Regions from separate parts of the Homo sapiens genome. Here all the other regions are linked to region 1. Evidence: promoter capture Hi-C in 16 types of primary human blood cells and fetal thymus (Javierre and others, 2016). All regions are on one chromosome and are shown on one strand. Each heading gives the region's core, a stretch centred on a gene start or on the middle of the fragment in contact. The rest is flanking DNA. Distances are from core to core; before and after follow the strand shown. Region 1 holds the start of DNAJC15 (DnaJ heat shock protein family (Hsp40) member C15). Region 2 holds the start of TSC22D1 (TSC22 domain family member 1). Region 3 holds the start of VWA8 (von Willebrand factor A domain containing 8).

Region 1 (4,453 bases), core at 1,152-3,651:
AGCCAAATTTATAAAGACGGGGTAATTGCAATAGAGAAAGAGTAATTCATGCAGAGCTGACTGTGCAGGAGACTGGAGTTTCATTATTACTCAAATCAGTCTCCCAGAGCATTCAGGGATCAGAATTTTTTATTTATTTATTTATTATTATTATTTTTTTGAGACGGAGTCTCACTCTGTCCTCAGGCTGGAGTGCAGTGGCGCGATCTCTGCTCACTGCAACCTCTGCCTCCCAGGTTCAAGCGATTCTCCTGCCTCAGCCTCCCGAGTAGCTGGGACTACAGGCACCCACCACGCCCAGCTAATTTTTGTATTTTTAGTAGAGATGGGATTTCACCATGTTGGCCAGGATGGTCTCACTCTCTTGACCTCATGATGCACCCACCTTCGGCCTCCCAAAGTGCTGGGATTACAGGCATGAGCCACCGCGCCCAGCTGGGGATCAGAATTTTTAAGGACAACTCGGTGAGTAGGGGGAAGCCAGTGAGCTGGGAGTGCTGATTGGTCAGGTCAAAGATGAAATCACAGGGAGTCCAAGTTGTCTTGCGTTATCAGTTCCTGGGTGGGGGCCACGAGATCAGATGAGCCAGTTTATCGATCTGGGTGATGCCAGCTGATTCATCAAGTGCGGGGTCTGCAAAATATCTCAAGCACTGGTGGTAGTTTTTACAATAGTGATGTTAGCTCCAGCAGCAATTTGGGGAGGGTCAGAATCTTGTAGCCTCCAGCTGCATGACTCCTAAGTCATAATTTCTGATCTTGTGGCTAATTTGTTAGTCCTACAAAGGCAGTCTAGTCCCCAGGCAAGAAGGAGGTTTGTTTTGGGAAAGGGCTTTTATCATCTTTGTTTCAAACTATAAACTATGAATTACATTCCTCCCAAAGTTAGTTTGGCCTACGGCCAGGAATGTACAAGACAGCTTGGAGGTTAGAAGCAAGATGGTGTTGATTAGGTCAGATCTCTTTCTCAGTTGTAATTTTGCAATGGCGGTTTAATTCCCAGTCCAGTTCTCTTTATACTGCTATGCAATGCATGTGCTCATGTTCTGGTATGTACTATTATTCTGTGTCAGTGTTATCTTCCCTACAAGATTGTAAATTTCTAGGACCTAACTTCTTAGACATGCTAATAATATTAACTAAGTGAACAAATTAATAGACCCTCAAAACTTTAAATTCAGGAATAGAAAAAAAATAAAGCTTTTTCTTCCTGTCAGCTGATTTTGCAAAGGGTATAAGGAGCCAAAGAGCTGCCACGTTGGTACAGAAGTTGGAAAACACCATACGCTTCAACTGCTGGTTAATTTTTGCTCTAAAAACTTGATGGAGGCCAGGCGCGGTGACTCACGCCTGTAATCTCAGCACTTTGGGAGGCTGAAGCGGGCGGATCACCTGAGGTCAGGAGTTTGAGACCAGCCTGGCCAACATGGTGAAACCTCGTCTCTACTAAAAATACACAAATTAGCCAGGTGTGGTGGCACGTGCCTTTAATCCCAGGTACTCGGGAGGCAGAGGGTGCAGTGAGCCAGAGATTGCGCCACTGCACTCAGCCTGGGCAACAGAGCGAGACTCCATCTCAAAAAAAAAAAAAAGCTTAATAATAAAATGGGCTTTTATATATACAAATCAGCACAAACTCATTTGAGGGAGAGTAAGATTTACCTACTTGCTCACAACTTTTTTTCCCCTGCCTCAGGCTCCTGAGTAGCTGGGATTACAGGGACGCACCACCACACCCAGCTAATCTTTGTATTTTTAGTAGAGACGAGGTTTCACCATGTCGGCCAAGCTGGTGTGATCCACCCGCCTCGGTCTCCCAAAGTGCTGGGATTACAGCGTGAGCCACCGCACCCGGCCACAACTTTCTTCTGTGTAATTTCACCTTAAATACAGCCATTTACTTGGGGGTGGAGTAAGCAAATTGCCTCTTTAATTTCTCTCCCGGGGTGGTAGAACTGTGGCATTAAACAGAAGTGCGAACAGAAGTTGAGAGTGGGAAGAAAGGCTGCCCGGAAGGGGGTCAGGAAAGCTCAGGCAAGCCCACCCTCAGGCACTACAGCTAGACTCCGAGCTTACTGGGCAGTCATCTGATTCGACCAACATCAGTTCGCAGGGCTTAAGCCCAGTCCCTTACGGCGGCCTGGGGAGGGACCAGGCCCAAGTATATAAAGCTCCCTGAGGGTCCGCGTTGGCTTTGCGCCTGTGAGTGTGATTCAAGAACGTCCCAGTGCCCTTGGCTCCTTTCGGAGTGTGACCCCGTGCTTGCACGGGACACGTTACCCAGCTCGGGTGAGAAGGGTATCTTCCGGGAACCTCGCCTTTAATAGCACAACGAGCGCAGAGTCCACTGGATCTGCGAGAAGAAACCGCGCTAACTAGTTTGTCCCTACGGCCGCCTCGTAGTCACTGCCGCGGCGCCTTGAGTCTCCGGGCCGCCTTGCCATGGCTGCCCGTGGTGTCATCGCTCCAGTTGGCGAGAGTTTGCGCTACGCTGAGTACTTGCAGCCCTCGGCCAAACGGCCAGACGCCGACGTCGACCAGCAGAGACTGGTGAGTCCTGCCAGCGGCCCCCACCCCTCTCTGGCTCCCTTGTAGTTTCTGCTTCAGCCCCCTCTACCGCCTCACCCTTGAACCTTTGTACTCCCCCGCATTCGCTCACGGTCTGTGCCCTAGCGCTCACTTGTTCAGTGGAGAGACCGCTTTGTGCTGGGCTTTGACGCCTGGGCGTGGAAGACGGAGCAGTTCTGAGGATCTGTCTCCTCAAGGAGCTTCCAGTCTTGTCTGGGACACAAACCAGAAAACAGGCAATTGCAAATACAGTAAAATAAGTGCTGTATGTGGATTTTCCTATCTCATAGGAGGCCCTAAAAACGTCTTGCAGGGGACGTGGTGGGATCAGGGACGCTTCTTGGAGAAAGCTGTAGTTAAAAATTAAGATCTGAATGAATAAAAACAGTCCATTCAGCAAGGAGAAGGGGAAAAAGTGTTTCGGGTACCAGGACTACTGTCTCCAAAGTCTCCGGCACAGAAACAGGGCCCAGTTGGAAACTCCAAGTGGTGTATTCAGGATGAACTGTAGAGCTGGAAAAAGGAAGGGTCTAACAGAAAACTGTCCAACAGAAGCATATTGTGAGCCACATACGTATTTTTACGTTTTTTTTTTTTTTTTTTTTTTTTGAGACGGAGTCTCGCTCTGTCGCCCAGGCTGGAGTGCAGTGGCGCGATCTCGGCTCACTGCAAGCTCCGCCTCCCGGTTTCAGGCCATTCTCCTGCCTCAGCCTCCCAAGTAGCTGGGACTACAGGCGCCTGCCACCACTCCCGGCTAATTTTTTGTATTTTTAGTAGAGACGGGGGTTTCACCGTGTTAGCCAGGATGGTCTCGATCTGCTTACCTCGTGATCCGCCCGCCTCGGCCTCCCAAAGTGCTGGGATTACAGGCGTGAGCCACCGCGTCCGGCATATTTTTAAGTTTTTTGTAGCCATATTAAACAACTGAAGAGAAACAGGTGGGTTTGATTTTAACCATGTATTTTCTTTAACCTGATATATGCACAGTTGCATGGTAATTTTCAACATTCAATATGAAATATTGCCCAAGTGGTGGTTTAGGCTTGTAATCCCAGCGCTTTAGGAAGCCCAGGCAGGAGGATCACTTGAGGCCATGAGTTTGGAGGACAGCCTGGGCAACACAGGAGACCCCATCTCTGCTAAAAAAAAAAAAAAAAAATTAGCTGGGTGTGGTGGTGTGAGCCTGTAGTCCTAGCTGCTTGGGAGGCTGGGTCGGGAGAATCACTTGAGCCCAGGAGTTGAGGTTATAGTGAGCTATGATTTCGCCACTGCACTCCAGCCTGAGAGACAGAGCTAGACCCTGTCTCCAACAAAGAAAAAAAAATGAGGCAGTAGAGATTTAGAAAGTTTTAAGTAACTGGTCCAGGATCATCCCTGGTAAGTGGCAGATCTACGATTCCAAATGCTACACTTTTTCCCTTATGACTTGCTGACTCCTTAGAAATAAGGATTTCTGGATATAGTATTCAGTGTATGATACAGCTGAACAAGATCAGGCAGAAGTAATCCTTTTGTGGAGAGTCGTAAAAATCCGAGTATCAGGCTTTCAAGGTAGTTGGGAGCTGTGGTAATTGGAAGATAGAACTAATATTGGTGACTTTTACATGTGTAGGTATTTTTACTTGGAAGAGGAGAGAGTTTACAGAATCCAGAGTACCACATAGGAAGCATCTTTAGTAGTCCAGGTACTTGAAGGCTAAAGTGTAGGCCAGTGATTCTCAAACTGTCTGTGTCCTGTAATATCCTGAAATCCTGAAGTCAGATTCATAGACAATAAAATCTACCTGTAAACATAACTTTTAATAATCAATATAATGCTTTAATTGAGACATAAAGGTGAAATATTTTATTAGACAATAACATGTCTACAGGCTGCGAGCGGTGT
Region 2 (4,453 bases), core at 810-3,309, 1.6 Mb after region 1:
GAGCCAAACTGGAAATGGAAGGCTGCTGACCTAAAGCTGAAGTTACACCAACCACATTTACAGGCGATGGCTGGATACCAGTTGCAGCACTCATAGTGGCTTGCAGAGGTACTGGCTGAAGACCTTGCTTTTGCTGATAGCTCAGTTCTTGAGACTGTAATTGTACTTGTGAGATCTGTGACTGAGAAATACTCTGTGGTATACTAACTGCTGGAATACTCTGTGGACCAGTGCTACCAAAATCCATCTGTTGGAGGGTCACACCTTGGAGAGCTGGTTGTTGCTGTTGTTGTTGTTGTTGCTGCTGCTGCTGCTGCACCACCACAGTAGGGGCTCCCATCTCTCCACTTCCCACACTCTCTGTATAGTGACTCAGTGTGCTGACACTACTGCTCACTGAACTCCCACTAGTGCTCTCCCTTTCAGAAGTCACTTCTATCGGATTTTGCTTTACAGTCTCCACCACTTTATTTATCAGCACACCTTCTGTAGCAGGTACAGCATTTTCTTTTTCATAGAACTCAGTGCAAGTCCATCTACCTTTTTTAAAGGGCTCAGAACTAGAATCTAACTTCACAACTCTGAACCTCGAAGTGTTAACTGTTGGTTGTTGCTGCTGACTTGAAACCGATCCCCCAGTCATCCCTGCAGCTGCATTAGGAACACTGCTAACAGCAGCAGAGGAAGAAATAGTACCATTGCCCATGCCACTCAAGATATTCACATTAACACCACTGGTAACTCCAGGCCCAACACTCACACCAGCAGCACTAGGAATATTGCTTGTACTTATATTAACATTACCAAGCATGCTGCTTGTCACATTAGGATTAAAACTACCCACAGCAGTAATGTTAACATTATTTACTGTACTAGTGCCAGTAACAGAATTTATACCTATTCCACCTGTAGTACTTGGAGCACGCATATTAGTCATTACAGATGCAGGTGAACCACTGGATGATACAGCAGAAGTTGGTGCAACTGGTGTGATACTGTCAGAGCTTCCAGTTGTAGAGAGTTTTCTAGATACTGGGCTTGAGGGTGGCCCACCAGTAATGGATGCACTGGCCACAGCAACATGAGATGGATGGTGGTGACCATGTTGGAGGTGGTGCCCATGATGAATCTGATGGTGGTGATGGAGGTGGTGTGGATGAGCATTCCCATTGATCACAACATTCTGTTGTGGAAGGTGAGGCAAATGAGGCTGAGGAAGGTGGGGCTGGTTGGGAGAGACTGCCCCAGGTGTCTCGGCTTCCTGGAAGTTATTTAGGGTCTCTTCTGAGGAGCTGCGTTCGGGCTCCCCTAAGTCAGTAGCCCTGGAAAGTGACACATCAAGGATCTCCGAAGAAGAGAGATCTTCCGTGTGAGATTCATCCAGATCATCATAGCTCTCAGTGTCCTCTGCTATACTGTTGTTAGAGCTGATACTAGCGGAGATCTGAGCAGGAGTAACGCTAGTTATCTGGAAGCCACTTTTCTTTTTCATTTGAGTTCCGCCTGGCGCAAGAGGCTGTGCCTGCAGCTGAGCCTGCGAAAGGAGGTTCAGGCTTTGTGGAGGCGGAGGCTGTGGTCCCGACGTAGAAGATGCTGCAGGGGGCGGCGGCTGAAGCAGCGACGGAGGCGGAAAATCCTCGGAAGATGTGGCATTACTACCGACGCCGGTACCTGCTGCATTGAGAGCAGAGGCGCTGCCACTACCGCTGCCCCTTCGAGGGAACATTGCCGGGTGCGCCATCTTCCTAGCGCTAATGTCTGCAGCGGCGGCGGCCGCGGCGGTGGACTCAGGCGGCTGGTGCATTGTGTTGGGTACCGGGGGCGCGGAGGAGACGAGTGCAATTTCCTTCTGCACCGTAATCTTTGTATTGGAGACGCCGGAGAGGAAAACGGGACCTGACGCTCCGCCTGGCGCGATTCCTCCTTCTCCTCCTCCTCAGCCAAAGGCGCCGGTCGCTCCTGCCTTCGAGAGCGAGCTTCGGAAAGGAGGATGAACGAGGGTGAACAGGGCGGCCGGGGACCCGAAGGGGGGATCCCTTCAGTCCTTCGCCATTCACTTTCCCCTCTAGCCTCACACCCCCCTTTATATTCTGCTTCACGTGGGGTGCGGGGCAGGAGGGAGGGGGAGAGCGCAGGAAGGGGAGGAAAAGCGAGAAATGCCCACCTTCTCCGGCCAACTCCGAAGCCGCCTCAGCCCCCTCCTCCCGCCGCGTCGGCGGCCGCTGCAAAGCCCTCCCGGCCGCTCTGCACGGAGGCAGCGCCAAGCAAATGTCGCCTTCCCCTCGCCACCCCCGGGGCCGCCGCCGCCGCCAGCGAGCCCCGAGCTCAGTGTCGCTCAAACCTCCCCTCCCGGCCCCGCTCGGCCCTCCCCCCGCGCCCCGCAGACCCTTTCAAACCCCCTGGGCTCGCGGCGGCTGCTCGGTGAGGAAACGCTGGCCGCGGCTGGGGCCGGGGCGACGCGGCTGCGAGCGGGGCGGCGGCGAGGCGCCCGGTACGGTGAGCCCAGCAACGAGGCGCGGGCGGGCGCGCAGAGACGCCGGGTCCTCGCGGAGCACGGCCGGGGCGCGGCGGCGGCGGTGGCAGCGGGAGCCCAGGGACCGCTCCATCACTGGCAGCCATGGAGCCCGAGCATTTTCCTCCCTCAGGGCAGGCGCCTCGACTCGGCACACGTCCTCGGGGAGGAAGGGGCCGGCACCCGAGCCTCTCCGGAGGGCGGCGGGACGTGCGCTAGGGCGGAGGGTGCGACCCTCTCTTATCCTCTTCCTCCGCAGCCGGCTCTTCCTCACCCCGCTGCTCCCGCGACCGGGCGGGAGAGGGCCGCAGGCGGCGGCGGCTCCTTTCTCCGCGGCGTTGGTGGCCAGACGGGCTGGTGCAGCGACTGCAGCCGACGCCGTTCAAAGGAACGAGGTGGGGTTGGTCGGTGTCGGCAAACGGGGCGGGGGAGTGAGTGGGTGCCGAGGGAGGGTGTCGGGCGGGGAGGGGGCTGTGGTGGTTGTTACTAGTGCTCTTCTTCGGCTCCCCCGGCTCCACCGTATCCCCCAGTCTCTCGCGGCATCGGGAGGGGAGGGACCAGCGCGGAGCGCAGGAGGAGGAGGGGCGACCGCCGGCGAGAGGAGGCGGTGGTGGCTGGGGGGAGGGGGCAGGCGGAGGAGGAGGAGGGAAGATGGCGTCTGCGCATGCGCCTCGGCGCCGCAGACATAAAGCCGGGTCTGGCGGGGCAGGAGGCGGCGGGTCTTCGGGCCTAGGCGAGCGCCAGGTCTCCCGACGGAAATTACCGAAGGCTGGCAGAGGCGCCGAAGCCGGGAGTGGTGGAGCCGGAGGGGATAGTGGGGGTGGGGAATTCCGGCCGAAGGAGCGAATCCGGGTCGGACTGCGTGATTCGGCCCGGTGGGGGCGGGCAGGGTGCGCGCCTGCCGCGCGCCCAGGTTAGGTGTGTCCGCTCTTTTCACACTCGCGGCCGGCGCGCGCGGGCACGCGGCAGAGGAGGGGGCGCGGCGCGGAAGGGCCGGCGGAGGCGGCGGGAGCGCCGGCGCTTGGTGTGCGCGCCTTGGGTGGTGTCCCCCGCCTGCGGAATGGGTAATGAGGCTTTTCTCCGCAGCAACAGCATCACGAGTTTCAGTTCCCAGGAGCCCGCCGCCGCGGCTGCTGCCGCTGCCACGACATGAGTCAGGCTTTCTTCCCTGGCGCGTGGCGGAAACCTCCTCCCCCTCGCCGCACCTGGGCTCGCCCCCGGCCCTTGCCTCCTCGGGGGATGCCCTAGGGCCGGGAGCTGTGGGGTCTATGGAAGGCCGGTGGCTCCCGGTGATAGGTGTTGTCTTTTGTGCAGTGCAGTTGCTGCCATGCGGTCCCCTCGCCCTTCCACGGGCAGGGGCGAGGCGGCCGGGCAGATGTTGCAGCTGTTTCCAGTTAACTGCCTGAGCTCCTCTGGGCTAGGCTCTTCTCTAACGAGGAGTGGTTGCAATCCATCCTTAACTGGAGGACAGAAGCAGGCCGGCCCTGTAATCGACTGACCTCAACAGGTGTCTCCAAGCAGCGACGCCTTTTTCGTTCATCGTCCTGGCTATATCCCCCATTGGTTTGACTCAGGAGGCAAGGTGGTCCGGACATGTGAGCAACACAAATGATAAGAATGCCTTTTAGGGCTAGAAAAGAAAAAGCCATCCGAAATTCCAGTTTTAAAATACACACACACACACACGTTACATTTCATGGGTCCAAATGTAGTTCTACAGAAGCAATGTTAGGTTTGATTGGGGGCAATTTACTGGCGGTTACTTTCTTGGTATTTCATGTCAAAACCTAGTTCTAAGCGTTTCTTACCAATAATCGAGAATGTAAGTCTTTCCCAGGAATTTAAAAATGATAAAGCAAGCCGAAAAACTGTAGGGAGGAATTTTCATTTTGTTAAATTTAGGTTGTTAGGGGAATCAACGCTTATGGTTAGACCTCTGAT
Region 3 (4,453 bases), core at 1,055-3,554, 1.1 Mb before region 1:
AGTATGTTCTCTGTAATATGTCCATGACTCTCACATTTGAAGCAAAGCCTATACTTTGATTTACTGGCTATAACAAAATTTGAGGACATTTACAACTTATCTACCAATACGTATATAATACAGACTTTAAAAACTCACACCCACATGTGTTTTTACAATCAACATGTATTATCCATGTACAAAGAACAATTGTTTTTTAAAAAGTTCAAGTCAATTCACTCGGCTAAATCTGCCTACCCAGATAGTCTGAACAGTCCTGAATCTAAACAAACTTGGTTTCATGTCTTCTAAAGGCAAGGAAACAGAATAATTCTCAAATAGCTAAAACTGTACATACTAAGAATAAAAAAGCTAACTTTTATTGAGCATTAATATGTGCCACAGATTATATTAATTAATAAATCCTCACAACAACCATAATAGATATATTCTTCTTATCCTTTTACAGTTAAGAAAACTAGGACACAAAGTTAAGTAACCTACCCTCAACGACCCATGGTTAGATAGTGGATAAGTGGATTCCAACCCAAATTGTTTAACTCCAAAACCCAACCTATAGTTTATGCTATACTTCCACCTTTGACCTCTGCCTTCTAGGGCAAAGGAGCAAAAAACAAATAAAGAACACACAAAAAATGTAAAAAACAAATGAATAAACAGCCCAGAAGTGAGAGTAATTGAGAAAAAGCAAAAAAAAAAAAAAAAACAAAAAGTAAAATTTGAAATTGCAACACTATGGTGGGGGACGGGGGTGGTGTATGTCTTCAATGAATAAAACGAAATACGTGGGACCTAAATATGCTTTTTTTTTTTTTTTTTTTGAGATGGAGTCTTGCTCTGTCGCCCAGGCCGGAGTGCAGTGGCTCCGGTCACTCCAAGCTCCGCCTCCCGGGTTCACGCCATTCTTCTGCCTCAGCCTCCGGAGTAGCTGGGATTACTGGCGCCCGCCACCACGCCCGGCTAATTTTTCTGTATTTTCTTTTTAGTAGACACGGGGGTTTCACCGTGTTAGCCAGGATGGTCTCGATCTCCTGACCCCGTGATCCGCCCGCCTCAGCCTCCCAAAGTGCTGGGATTACAGGCGTGAGCCACCGCGCCCGGCCCATATGCTCATTTCTTAGCAAGGAAAACTGGGGGTTGCGGGGAAAATGCAAGAGGACAACGAAACCTACAATTTCATAGTGAAAACCTGTTATTCCAAGCAGCACTGACATTGACAAAATCTTGTCTGGAATCACTTCACCATTCAAGGGTAGCAACAACAGATATCCTTTCCTTAACCATCACAGTAACTCTAACTCCACCAACACACAAGAAAAAGAATTCCTAAAACCAGCTCAAGTAGAGCCAAAAAATACTGAGCTTAGAAATCAAAGCATGTGATTCTAGCATAGTAATTAGTTGTGTGTTCTCCAGCGAATCACTTTTCCCTTCTGGGTTTCAATTACCTCATTTGTAGAGGCAAGTGTTTTAACTAAATTAAGGTGTAACTGTCAGCTCTAAGAATTACGTGAAACTTTAAGGAAAACTCCTGTAAAACTTGGAAAGGCTCGGGGATGCATTTAAAACACCGTGAACTATGGGTTCTTTGGCAAGAATGTTCCCTTCTAAGCCGCCACAAGCCCTGGCTAGAACATGACACAGACCGGCTTCCAGGCCCTTGAGGCTCAGAGAGCAAGGTCAAATCCAGCTTTCAATAATTCCATAGGGCTGAGGCATTAACCTCTACGAGTATTATAACCTAAGTCAGAATTCTGGGGGTAAAGGCAGCGGCAGGGGAAGGAGAAATCACTCTTCTAGGTCATCAGAAACCTTAGTCCAGACCCCTCGGGTTGCAGAATCAGGCACAGAGAGGGCGAGCGCCTTGCCCCCACGTTACACAGCAGTTAGCGCCGAGGTCGGGACTAGAACCTCAATCTTTCAGCTCCCCGCTCGGCAAACGGTCCTTCCAAGCGCAGCGAAGCAACAGAGAGGAGGGGCGGGGGCGCGCGGGGACCCGGCACGGAGCGCAGGGGCACCAGGGAGGACAGGGGCGCACCCCGAGTTACCTGTGTCGGCCCCCGAGCCGGCGTGCAACAGTCTGACCTCCGGCCGCTGCCTGTCGCCACCCGGCCTGCGCTGCACCACCTGCCGCAGGAGCAGCCGCATGCGCCGCGAGGCCGGGCCGCCGTGGCCTCCGGGTGCCCCGAGGAGTAGAAGCCGGGATTGCATGGCGCCGGGGGGGCTGTCGGGGACGGCGAGGGGGCTCGGGGATCGAGCGGCGTCCCGTGCAGGCACCGTGAGGCAGCGCGGAGAAGGGGACAGGAAGCGGCACCTAGCCGAGTCCGCCGGAAACTCCTTCCCCCGCGGCGCGGCCGGCTCAGTAGACTCAGCCCGGCCCTACCCGGCCCTGCATGGCCCAGACGGGCGGAAAGAGCCTGCGGAGCTCCAGCCCAAAGAGCCGGCACCGTCCCGGGACTGCCCGCACCGCGGGGGTGCTCCGAGCTGCGGCGCTGGGCTCTGGCAAGCGCCTCGCAGTCCGTGAGACTGTCTGTTCACCTGGATGCACCAGGCCTTCACCCGCCGTTTCCCTGCGATCCCACAGAATCTCAGGAGTTCAGTAAATGCCAAGGGTTTTAGGAGCATTTGTCGGTGTGACTCTTCAGATGCTTGCCCCAAGTCTTCGTTTCTTAGTTAAAGGCCCAGTAAGTATAGGGAGCTTTCCCTGTATTCGGCTTCAGATTTCGGAAATGGAGAAAACATGCACAAGATGATGGGAACTTTCACAACTGTCTTGATTCATTGTAACCACACTAGTGTTTCCAAACCGTACGTGAAAGCTTTACCCTTTGTCCTTTTGGTGGTGGTTGTTTGTTTCTGTGTTTTATTACCGCTTCCTAAATTCTAAGGAAAAAATTCACATCTTAGTGATAGATGGAAATTGCTTAAATATCAGAAAGGATCCAGATCAAGCACTTTTCTAGTCATGCTGTAATACAAAAGTTATATAAAGATGATTTATGTCTTTAGTAAAGGAAAAAGTAGGACACTGGCTAAGGCTGCCTCCCTCTTGTACATTCCAACATCGGAAATGGTCCTACCACAAAGCAAACTAAGCCTAATGTAATTAGACTGCATCCCCAAAATGTCACAGTGAATTGACTAAGGCAAAATATTTGAGACAAGTTATACAAGCAAACATCAAAAAGAAGGCAGAAGACCTCACTTTCAGCTAAAGACCTTGCTAATTCTAGAGCTGCCACTGTCTAAATACATAGCACCTACCCTGCGCCTGACCCTGTGATGAGTGCTGAGAAGAGAGTGTTAGAGTGGAGACTGTAAAAGTCAAACAAGGCTAGGTAAGGAAGGCTTTGGGCATCCAGCGGAAGAACTTGAGGAATGAAGGCTGAACCAGGCTTCTAACCTAGATGAGGAGACAGTGAAAATAAAGGTAATAAGTAGTTACACAATATATTATGACTTCGTTTCATGTGTATCTTCTCATTTAATCCTCATAGCAACCCTAAGACATAAATTTAGGATGTAAGCTTATAAAATGCTTTTCCTACTTTGAGCACATTGTATGTATCAAGATTTTAATGAATTATCCCATTTCACATAAAAATGCTTTGAGGTACTATTATTATCCTCCGTTTTACAGATGAAGAAACTGAGGCTAGAAGAATTGAATACCTTGGTCAAGATATCTCCATTTAATCTCGCTGGAACTCAGTAGACACCTGAAAGAATGGGAGAACAACCTAAGGCAATTTTGCAAAGTGGTTGATATAAGCACTAAGAGCTCTTGGAGTTAAGACAATGGAGAGATCAACACAAGTTAGAGCATTCAACAACATTTTTTGCCTAGTTTTATTTTTTTTAGAGACAAAGTCTCACTCTGTTGCCCAGGCTGGGGTGCAGCGGCAGTATTATAGCTCATTGCAACCTCGAACTCCTGGGCTCGAGTGATCCTCCTGCTTCAGCCTCCCTAGTAGCTGAGACTACAGGCGTGCACCACTGTGCCTGGCTAATTTTTGTGTTTTTGTTTTCGTAGCAGTGGAGTCTTGTTATGTTGCCCAGGCTGGTCTCAAGCTCCTGGCCTCAAGTGATCCTCCTGCCTCAGCCTCCCAACGACAACATTTATTGAGTAACTGCTGTATAAACAGTACCCTGCTAGATACTGTGAATCAATGGGCTCACATTAGGTATTGATGATAAATATGCAAATAAAGAATTGCAATACAGTGAGACACGTGTCAAGAGATTTAGGTTCAACATACTGTGGAGTGGATTGCTGCACCTGGAGTCTTCACAGAGAAGGTAGTGTTTGAAATGATTCATGTAGGATATATTATACAAGAGTTTGTCAGGCTGAGACAAGTCAAATCTGGCAGACAGATCATGTACAGAGAGAGAGAGAAAGAAACAGCTGAAAGTGCAGGGCATGATTGAGAACCAGAGAGTGATTCAGTGT

Evidence for each region. Contacts are between HindIII fragments. The CHiCAGO score rates a contact against its expected background, and 5 or more counts as called.
Region 2: a contact is called between the fragment with the promoter of TSC22D1 here and the fragment with the promoter of DNAJC15 in region 1, in 11 of 17 cell types (non-activated CD4 T cells, monocytes, total CD4 T cells and 8 more). The highest score is 11.8, in non-activated CD4 T cells.
Region 3: the fragment with the promoter of VWA8 here is called in contact with the fragment with the promoter of DNAJC15 in region 1 in 2 of 17 cell types (activated CD4 T cells and fetal thymus); the score reaches 6.8 in activated CD4 T cells.

Annotation. Positions count from the first base shown.
Region 1 is chr13:43,021,185-43,025,637 of GRCh38, forward strand. DNAJC15 (DnaJ heat shock protein family (Hsp40) member C15) reads left to right here and starts at 2,402. Exons shown (of 6, transcript NM_013238.3): 1 at 2,402-2,550. The coding sequence starts at 2,443. RefSeq lists enhancers at 2,221-2,280, 2,291-2,340, 2,851-2,900. The HindIII fragment of the contact is 4,162 bases long and covers 1,592-4,453 here.
Region 2 is chr13:44,574,271-44,578,723 of GRCh38, forward strand. TSC22D1 (TSC22 domain family member 1) reads right to left here and starts at 2,060. Exons shown (of 3, transcript NM_183422.4): 1 at 1-2,060. The coding sequence starts at 1,804. It overlaps TSC22D1-AS1 (TSC22D1 antisense RNA 1), which reads left to right and starts at 1,626. Exons shown (of 3, transcript NR_038381.1): 1 at 1,626-2,000; 2 at 2,772-2,907; 3 at 3,832-4,453. RefSeq lists an enhancer at 1,533-1,772 and silencers at 2,093-2,802, 2,813-3,052, 3,323-3,522, 3,703-3,752. The HindIII fragment of the contact is 6,017 bases long and covers 1-4,453 here.
Region 3 is chr13:41,958,805-41,963,257 of GRCh38, forward strand. It overlaps VWA8 (von Willebrand factor A domain containing 8), which reads right to left and starts at 2,305. Exons shown (of 45, transcript NM_015058.2): 1 at 2,049-2,305. The coding sequence starts at 2,211. VWA8-AS1 (VWA8 antisense RNA 1) reads left to right here and starts at 2,365. Exons shown (of 4, transcript NR_039974.1): 1 at 2,365-3,430. RefSeq lists enhancers at 538-1,038, 1,039-1,539, 1,635-1,774 and a silencer at 1,975-2,384. The HindIII fragment of the contact is 5,183 bases long and covers 1-2,817 here.